3 separate regions of the Homo sapiens genome follow, and regions 1 and 2 are each linked to region 3. Evidence: promoter capture Hi-C in 16 types of primary human blood cells and fetal thymus (Javierre and others, 2016). All regions are on one chromosome and are shown on one strand. The core of a region is centred on a gene start or on the middle of the fragment in contact, and the rest is flanking DNA. Distances in the headings are between cores, read along the strand shown.

Region 1 (2,904 bases), core at 394-2,893, 2.0 Mb after region 3:
TTTTATCACATGGTTGGCTATAGCTAGATGTTTGCCTATTTGGGAATAGAGTAATGAGGCATTTGCCTTATTTGAGTATAGTCTGATTACTTGGCTGCGTGTGATTGACTGAAGCCCAGCTATTCGTAATTGGCTAAAACCCAGCTTTTGTTAATAAAATATAGACTCCTAAATTAGGTTTTTGGTTTTTTTTTTGCATACTGTCAGATTGCAGTTTGTTATGTAGGAACTCAAAATACATAGATAATCTCAGGTTAAGGGTCTCCTGCTTATTTGTTTTAACATTTATAATAGTCAAATGATGAGGGAACAATGCTTATACTTTTTACAATTACACATACAAGTAATTTTACGTGAAATTACTGAGTCATTTCTTCTTAAAATGTTTATAAATATTTAGATATAATTCTTCATGTGAACAAGTATTATTTTGCATAAATGCCATACATTTAGAGTTAAAAATATTTTATTTATATTTTATGTCCATTAGGATAAATAGAAATATCCATGTAAATTTACAATCTCTGCTTTCTAAAAATTAAGAATTAACTTTTTCAAAATTTAAGGTTGCATGTCTGGAAATATAATACTTGTGCTGTTTTCTGTTATTATATTCAATCAGCAAAACAATCATTTAAAATGTTTTATTCACAGAAAATTTTCTCTCTGTAACATTTTAATAATTCAGATATTTTTAATAGTTTAGATTTCCCACTTTCTTTGTTAAAAAAAAAAAAATCCAGCCAAGCGCAGCGGCTCACGCCTGTAATCCCAACATTTTGGGAGGCCGAGGCGGGTGGATCACCTGAGGTCAGGAGTTCAAGACCAGCCTGGCCAACATGGGGAAACCCTGTCTCTACTAAAAGTACAAAAATTAGCTGGGCTTGGTGGTGGGTGTCTGTAATCCCAGCTACATGGGAGACTGAGGAAAGAGAATTGCTTGAACCTGGGAGGCGGAGGTTGCAGTGAACCGTGTCGTTCCACTGCGCTCCAGCCTGGGTGATAAAGCGAGACTGTGTCTAAAAAAACAAAAACAAACAAACAAACAAAACAAAAAAACCTATAGAAAAAGCTTCAGTTTCAGCACTCAAGAATGAACTTGCAGAATTCCAAGATTCTTAGACAGAACATTCATATTTTCATTTTCGACTCTACACATCAACATTATATTAAAGCCTTCTTAATTTTACATTTATTACATTGTTTTCTAAAGAAGTGAATCTCAATTTTGAAATTAAGTTTAAAAATATTATGAAATAAAATAAAATTTTCATCGGAGAACATGACTACCCCACAAGAGACCATTAGCAATTTCATCCTATGGCTCTGCAATAAAACATGCTGTGTAAAAGTGATTGCATTTGAAGTTACTTGTACATTTGAATGCAAACTACCCAATCATGAAAAATGAGGCTTCCATTTTCTATAAAAATAAATTAGGAGGCAATGCTTTGCTGGCAAAGCCATTTGAGCTCCTCAGTTCATAACTATTTATGGTAACATAAACAGATGTCTTTGCTCACACTGTGAACTGCTTTGCAATATTAATTTAACATTACTTTATATCCTAAAGTGAATGTAGGTGACTTGTTTTAGGATCTAATAAAACCAGCCCTGATGTAGAGATCCCATAGGAAATTATACAATAACGTTACCTCCATAAATAATTTTCTTCTTATGAAATCATAATCCCCATTACAATTTTAGAACTGTTATTTAATATCATGATTTCCACATTAATATCTTAGGTACAAATGTAATTTTTAAAATGAAAACACACTTTTCAAGAAGACATTCCTTTGGGAAAATAAGTTTTCACTTCTAAATTTAAAGTAGAATAAAATAAATATTGGCTGTGTCACCTATTGCTTATTGACAGTAAAATTACTTTTTAGTTAACAGAACAATTTTTCTCTGACAAAATATTATGATGGTAGTGCCCAGTAAATTGTAACTAAGAAAGCTGATAATAACTGCTCAAATATGAATAACATAAATGCTGTCTGAAAATTATGCATATCTTTAAAATTCCTGAGAAACATTTAAGAATAAAATATTATCTTAAATGTAGTAGTTCTTCCTGCCCAAATGCATTCACCAACAGACATATATTAATATGTCTACTGGAAGCAGTATTATACAATAGAAAGAGCAAAGATTTGAAGTTTAAAAAAAAACGGTTCTGATCTGAGTTCAAACAGCTATAAAGCTTTTCATTTGCCCCTCAACACTAATTTCCTCATCTAGAAAATTGGAATAAAAATGGCCACTGTCTACTTTTGTGGTAATTGCATTTTTAAAGATTAAATTATATAAAAATTACAAAATGTGTAATTCGATGCTAGACATATAGCATTGTTTCTAATTTGCATATTAAAATGTTTCTTGGTATACGCATTTAATAACACGAGAATAAATCCAGTGTCTTTATATTAGGTCCTAAGAAAAATAATATTTCTAATTAAATAATCCTAAAGATACTTCCAAAAATGCTGACTTAGGAAAATAAAATTAAAAAATAACCTAACAAATATTCTTTCTTCTTTACATTTGCCTCCATGACATATTAATAGCAGGAGTCAATAATAACTGTTTTATAGTAACTGCTTCTAAGCATTTTCTTCCAGAAGGACATATAATTATAAGGAAAAAGTATTAAATAAATTTTAGACATGGGGAAAAAATACTTTCTTCTTCCCATCATATTGTGCAAGATACTGAAGGACTTTATATGAATTAAGTCTACTTTTATTAAATGATGTTAATAATCTATCACTACTTGTTTGCCAAATAATCATCTATACCTTAAACTTTTGTCTCTTTTAGATATGCCATTTAGTGTTGTTCCTCATGGTGATTTTTCTCTGTTGGGGCTCAGAAAGTGATACTCCAAAGACTGGGGCT
Region 2 (2,861 bases), core at 156-2,655, 2.0 Mb after region 3:
GTCCCTGATTTCTCAGATAAAGAGGGCTTATTACTTCTGCAGCCACCCATTAAGTTAGTGACTTGAAGCTAACCTCCTATCTTCTGACTCACAATTTTGTGTATATTATGAAAAACATGTATATTCATATTTAATGTTTATATTAAATATTAACACATTTTTAATTAAAATTAATATATTTTAATTACATGTTAATGTATTACTAGATTTGGAGAACTTTTCCTGCTTCTGTGTTATAACAGTGATTAAAACAGTCAAGATCGATGTGGTCATAGAGGTTAGTATAAAAGACAAAATAAAGAAATGTTTCACTTTCTGGGAGTGATAATTTTGTGTGGAAAAGTAGAGTGAGAGAATGGAGAACAGTTGGAGAAGAAATCTGTTCTAGGTACATTAGTCTAAATGGAATTCCGTAACATATGAAAAGACTTAAATCAAGTTTATGAATTATGCAGAGAAGATAAGTTTATCAAAATTATTTTTCAAAAGAAAAAAGATCTCAGATAACCTTAATAATCACCCCATATCACATATCTTATAAATGATCAAATCAGGTGTGAATTCAAGCCTGTTTAAGACCATAGCAAATTTTCTTTCCATTACACTAGTCTTCATTTCTATTTAGTGATGTCATGTTTTAATGGTGTTGTTAATAATTATATGTCACATCAATAATTGAAATAATGCTATGTGTAACATTAAAAAATATTTCATTAGTGTGGTGGTCTTTAGTGATGTGGCATGGTTTTTAAAATGTAGGTATTAATCAAGCAATATAAAAATGCTTATGCTAATTTTAAAGTATTATTGAAAAAATATCCAGGGGAAATGTGTACTCTATTTAAAGGCCAATGAAGATTCAGAAAAATAATACTCATAAAAAGCTTTGTAGAGGTTGTAGGATTTTATCTATCTTTTGAACCTTGGAAAATATTTCAATTATTTTACAGAAAAATAAGATAGGTCCATGGAGTGTTAACAAACATGAAACAAAAGAATCTTACAGAGCAGATATAGAGATAAGAAGTCAAGAAAGAGCAAAAAAAGAAGTTCAGATAAAACTAATAGAAACTAATTTTGGATAGTTAGAACATGATCAGATTATAGAAATACTAAAAAAATACTAGATGTAAAGGTTTTATTTTGTTTTTTAATAAAAGCGTGTTTTAATTAAACTTGGTTAGCAATATTATGAAGACATGACTAGTGCAGAGACACCTAGTAGGAAGATGAAACAGATGGGGAGCTTTCGAGTCTTCTACACATGACACAGTAATGTTAGAAAAACTCAGACTGCCTCAGATAGGACAGAGTTCATTTCCAATTTTGTTCCAACATTGTGTTACCATGGGAAACTTAATTTCACTAAGCCTCAGCTTTCTCACAAACAAAATGAGTAAAAAATACTTAAGTGATGAAGTTTCTTGGAATTATATGTTGTTATTATTTTCACAGCCACCTCCACTCTGAAAAGAAATTACATGTCTTATTATATTAGGATATGATATGCACAAATGCTCAAGAAATGCTACAAAGGCATATGTGATGAAGTGGACAGAGGACAATCATTCACACCCCATATGTCTGAAATTAGATTATTTGAAGTGCATAGCTTAAAGATGTTTATTCATGTACTACAATTATCAGTCATTTACAATATGCTAAATATTCTGCAAGTACATTTTGACATAAAAAATTCATTGAAACAATCTAGAGTCTATGAAAAATACATTAGTAATCGCTTGGAATATATATTTCATGTGGGGATGCAGGGAAATAAAAGAAACAAAACCCTGAATGGACAGAGTAAAAAAAAATCCATACCTAGACATATAGTAGGAAAATCTCATAATAATTCATATATCTTGTTTTCCATTTTTTGACTTTCTACTTTGTGTGCTTTCCTTGTAAACAGCATAAGCTTATAGACACTGTATTATAATGGATAAAGGTATATATAGACTTTAAAACTAGAATGACAGGATTTGAATTCTAACTTCCCTGCCTTGTATAACTTAACTTTTTTTCAGTTTTCTCTTTATAAATTTAGACATATATTAATATAACCCAGTGTACTGAAATATCAAGTTAAAAACATATTATTGTCTTGTATAATACTAAGGCAGAACTCTAGTGTAAGCTATGAACTTTGAATGGTGTTGAGACATGCCAATGTAGGTTCATCAGTTATAATAAATGTAACACTCTAGTGGGGAATGCTCATAGTGTGGGAGGCTGCACATGTGTGAGAATAGTAAAAATATGGGAACTCTCGTATTTCTGTTCAATTTTGTTATAAAACTGAAACTGTTCTAAATATAAAGTCTCCTAAATTATCTAGCACTACAAAAATATGATTATCTCAATAGATGCAGAATGAATGCAACATGATTCAAAATCTATTCGGATTAAAATTTTAAAACTCAATCTGATAAAATAATCATTAAAAAGCCATAATGAATATCACACATTATGGTAAAATATAAGAATTGTACTATTTAAAATCAGGAATGAGAGCAGAATGTCTATTGGTTTAGTCTGTTCAAGCTGCTATAACAAAATATCATAAATTAAGTAGCTTATAAATATCAGAAATTTATTTCTCACAGTTCTGGAGACAAGAAAGTTCATGATCAATGTATTGACAGATTCAGCATCTGGTGAGGGCTCACTTCCTGGTTCACAGGCTGTCAGCCCTTCCTTTCCACTCTTCCACTGTATTGAACAGTAGCTCCAGGCTTCTGGTTGAGATAGCTGACTATTCTCTTTATTTGGTGATTTGGCCATACCCTTAGTGGTCTCTTCAAACCTTGCTTTCACATTTTTTTTTAACAAGATAGATAAGCTGAGAACTTTTCAAA
Region 3 (2,700 bases), core at 100-2,599:
TAGCTGGAATTACAGGCGTGCGCCAACACTCCCCCGGCTTTTTGTATTTTTAGTAAAGGCGGGTTTCATCATGTTGGCGACGCTGTTCTCGAACTCCTGGCCTCATGTGATCCGCCTGCCTGGGCGTCCCAAACTGCTGGGATTACAGGTGTGAGCCACCTCGCCCGGCTAAAGATGGCTTATTTAAAGCTAGTAGTGAATTAATTCAGTTCCTAATTGAAACCTAGGTTTTAACAATAAACATTTGAATTTTGTTCAAGTTTTCTTCAGGGTACATTATATTATGAGACAGCATTGCTTTTTCACAACGAAACGTGACCATGCCAGAAAATAAAATGTTGCCTTCTTTACGGGCTTCCTTCTCCTTGTCAAACTTTGGTAGCATAGTCAGAAACAACTGAAAGGCAAAATACTAAAACATACAGCTCCAGTAACTTTTTTTTTTTAAGATTCTAAGCCAACAGTTTTTTGGAGCCTGCGGGAGGGGGGCGAGGAGTGTTGAAAGGGCCCTACTAAGCTGAGGTCGAGCCAACAGTGAAGCTTCAAAATTGTCAGCAGGCAGAGTCTCTGGAGAGGCAAATGAATAGGCTTAACAGAAGTCCCTTGCCCTGCAAAAAACGAGGCAGGTGCTAGGGGGGTGGACTTTTTGGATAGGATGGAAACCGGGACGGATGAAGTCTTCTCTGGTTAGAGAGGAAATTTGGTATTAAGAGAGCCTCACTGAATCCCAATAATAACCAAACAACTGGTGTTGTCCAGGGCACCGGCTGGAAAGTGGGAGGCAGGAAGCAGAAAGGCTCAAGCTCCTTTCCCTGAGTCGGTTCAGGATTTTAATTTCAGCCAATGTTTATTGGGGCACGGTGTTAAGCACGGTGATATCAAGCTGAATAAAACGTGGTCTTGTCCTTGAAGAGCGTATAGTTCAGTGAAATGGCTTTAACATTCCTCGTGGGTTTTGATAACTTTTATCCTGGGAGTTGTCAGGGAAGAGCTGCATCTAAATCCATCCATACTTTGGTAAAGATTTCAAAACAGAGGAAGCAAGATACGGGGCGACGAGGTTGGAGGAGAGATGACGGCAGGGGCCGGTGCCAGATTTGGGAGCCGCCAACGCCGGGCTGTGCTGGTGCTGCATGCTGGCAAGGGGCAGCCAAGACCGTGCTCCGCGCGGGCACCCTCGGGCTCGGTCCCAGCAGCTGGCAGTGCCGTGCGGGCGGACTGCGGTGGGCCTGGCAGGGGCCGAGCGTAGGTCCGGAGCAGCTTGCGCGGCCGGCGCCCGCCCCCAGGGGGCAGAGTTCCCGGGCTCGTGCCTGCGCCGCTACCTGGGGCTCAGGCCCAACCGCTCCCCGCTGCGTCCGCGCCTTCTCTTTTCCGGTCCTCTCCGCCGGCCGGGGCTCGGCTGAGCTCCAGATTTCCCCACCCGCGGCCGCCGCCAGGGGACAGGAGCCGAGGCGCGGCAGGGCACCAGCGGCGGGAGGCAAGGTTGGGGAGGCGAGGGCGGTCCGCGTGCGGGGGCGGGAGGGGGCTGGGGGATTCGAGGGACGCGGCAGCCCCGCCCCCGCCCCCTCCTCTTCTCCGCTCCAAGCCCGAGAAGCTGGGGAGCATGGACCAGACCCCGCAGCGCTGGCACCATGACGCTCGCCCGCTTCGTGCTAGCCCTGATGTTAGGGGCGCTCCCCGAAGTGGTCGGCTTTGATTCTGTCCTCAATGATTCCCTCCACCACAGCCACCGCCATTCGCCCCCTGCGGGTCCGCACTACCCCTATTACCTTCCCACCCAGCAGCGGCCCCCGAGGACGCGTCCGCCGCCGCCTCTCCCGCGCTTCCCGCGCCCCCCGCGGGCGCTCCCTGCCCAGCGCCCGCACGCCCTCCAGGCCGGGCACACGCCCCGGCCGCACCCCTGGGGCTGCCCCGCCGGCGAGCCATGGGTCAGCGTGACGGACTTCGGCGCCCCGTGTCTGCGGTGGGCGGAGGTGCCACCCTTCCTGGAGCGGTCGCCCCCAGCGAGCTGGGCTCAGCTGCGAGGACAGCGCCACAACTTTTGTCGGAGCCCCGACGGCGCGGGCAGACCCTGGTGTTTCTACGGAGACGCCCGTGGCAAGGTGGACTGGGGCTACTGCGACTGCAGACACGGTTAGTGGCCTCGGGGCGGCCGCGGAAACTCCGGACGGGCTCGGAGCCAGTGAGGCTTGGGGCCGGCGTACAGGTCTCTTGGAAAAAGTGACGGGGTGTGTGGGGTTGTGGGCTTGCGTTTGCGGGCTGTGATGGTGGGCTGCAGCTGGGTTACCAGTAAGGTATACTGGTGCTGCAAATCTAAGCCAGCCAGGTGTGCTTGTGTGAAGGTTGTCAGGGGTGACAGTTCTATGCAAGGTGCTGAGCTCTGGGTTTCTGAATTTGCTCTGTCCTCTGGCCACTGTGTGTGTGTGTGCGCTCGTGTATTGGGTGACAGTGTGCTTTGGGCGTCTGTTCTCTAGATTAGCTTACGTTGAGTGGGTTACCATATTTACATTAAAGAGGCATAATTACTTGTTCTGGAAAGGGAAATGTTACATTAACGTGGCAATCAATAACCTTCCCTCCATTCTTTAGACTCCGATTTTTAAAAATGTGGTAAAATTTTGCCTTAATTTAGCTGTTGACCTCTGTTTTAAAAAGTATGGCAAAATTATGTGGCCAAAATCAGCCATATTCACATACTCC

Evidence for each region. Contacts are between HindIII fragments. The CHiCAGO score rates a contact against its expected background, and 5 or more counts as called.
Region 1: a fragment that was not itself captured here is called in contact with the fragment with the promoter of PRSS12 in region 3 in 1 of 17 cell types (M1 macrophages); the score reaches 5.8 in M1 macrophages.
Region 2: a fragment that was not itself captured here is called in contact with the fragment with the promoter of PRSS12 in region 3 in 1 of 17 cell types (M2 macrophages); the score reaches 5.3 in M2 macrophages.

Annotation. Positions count from the first base shown.
Region 1 is chr4:116,397,512-116,400,415 of GRCh38, reverse strand. No RefSeq gene overlaps it. Among named protein-coding and RNA genes, the nearest start is that of MIR1973, 99 kb to the right of the region's middle. The HindIII fragment of the contact is 1,137 bases long and covers 1,075-2,211 here.
Region 2 is chr4:116,375,669-116,378,529 of GRCh38, reverse strand. No RefSeq gene overlaps it. Among named protein-coding and RNA genes, the nearest start is that of MIR1973, 77 kb to the right of the region's middle. The HindIII fragment of the contact is 1,037 bases long and covers 887-1,923 here.
Region 3 is chr4:118,351,652-118,354,351 of GRCh38, reverse strand. PRSS12 (serine protease 12) reads left to right here and starts at 1,349. Exons shown (of 13, transcript NM_003619.4): 1 at 1,349-2,133. The coding sequence starts at 1,632. RefSeq lists silencers at 1,123-1,382, 1,413-1,492 and an enhancer at 759-1,604. The HindIII fragment of the contact is 7,140 bases long and covers 543-2,700 here.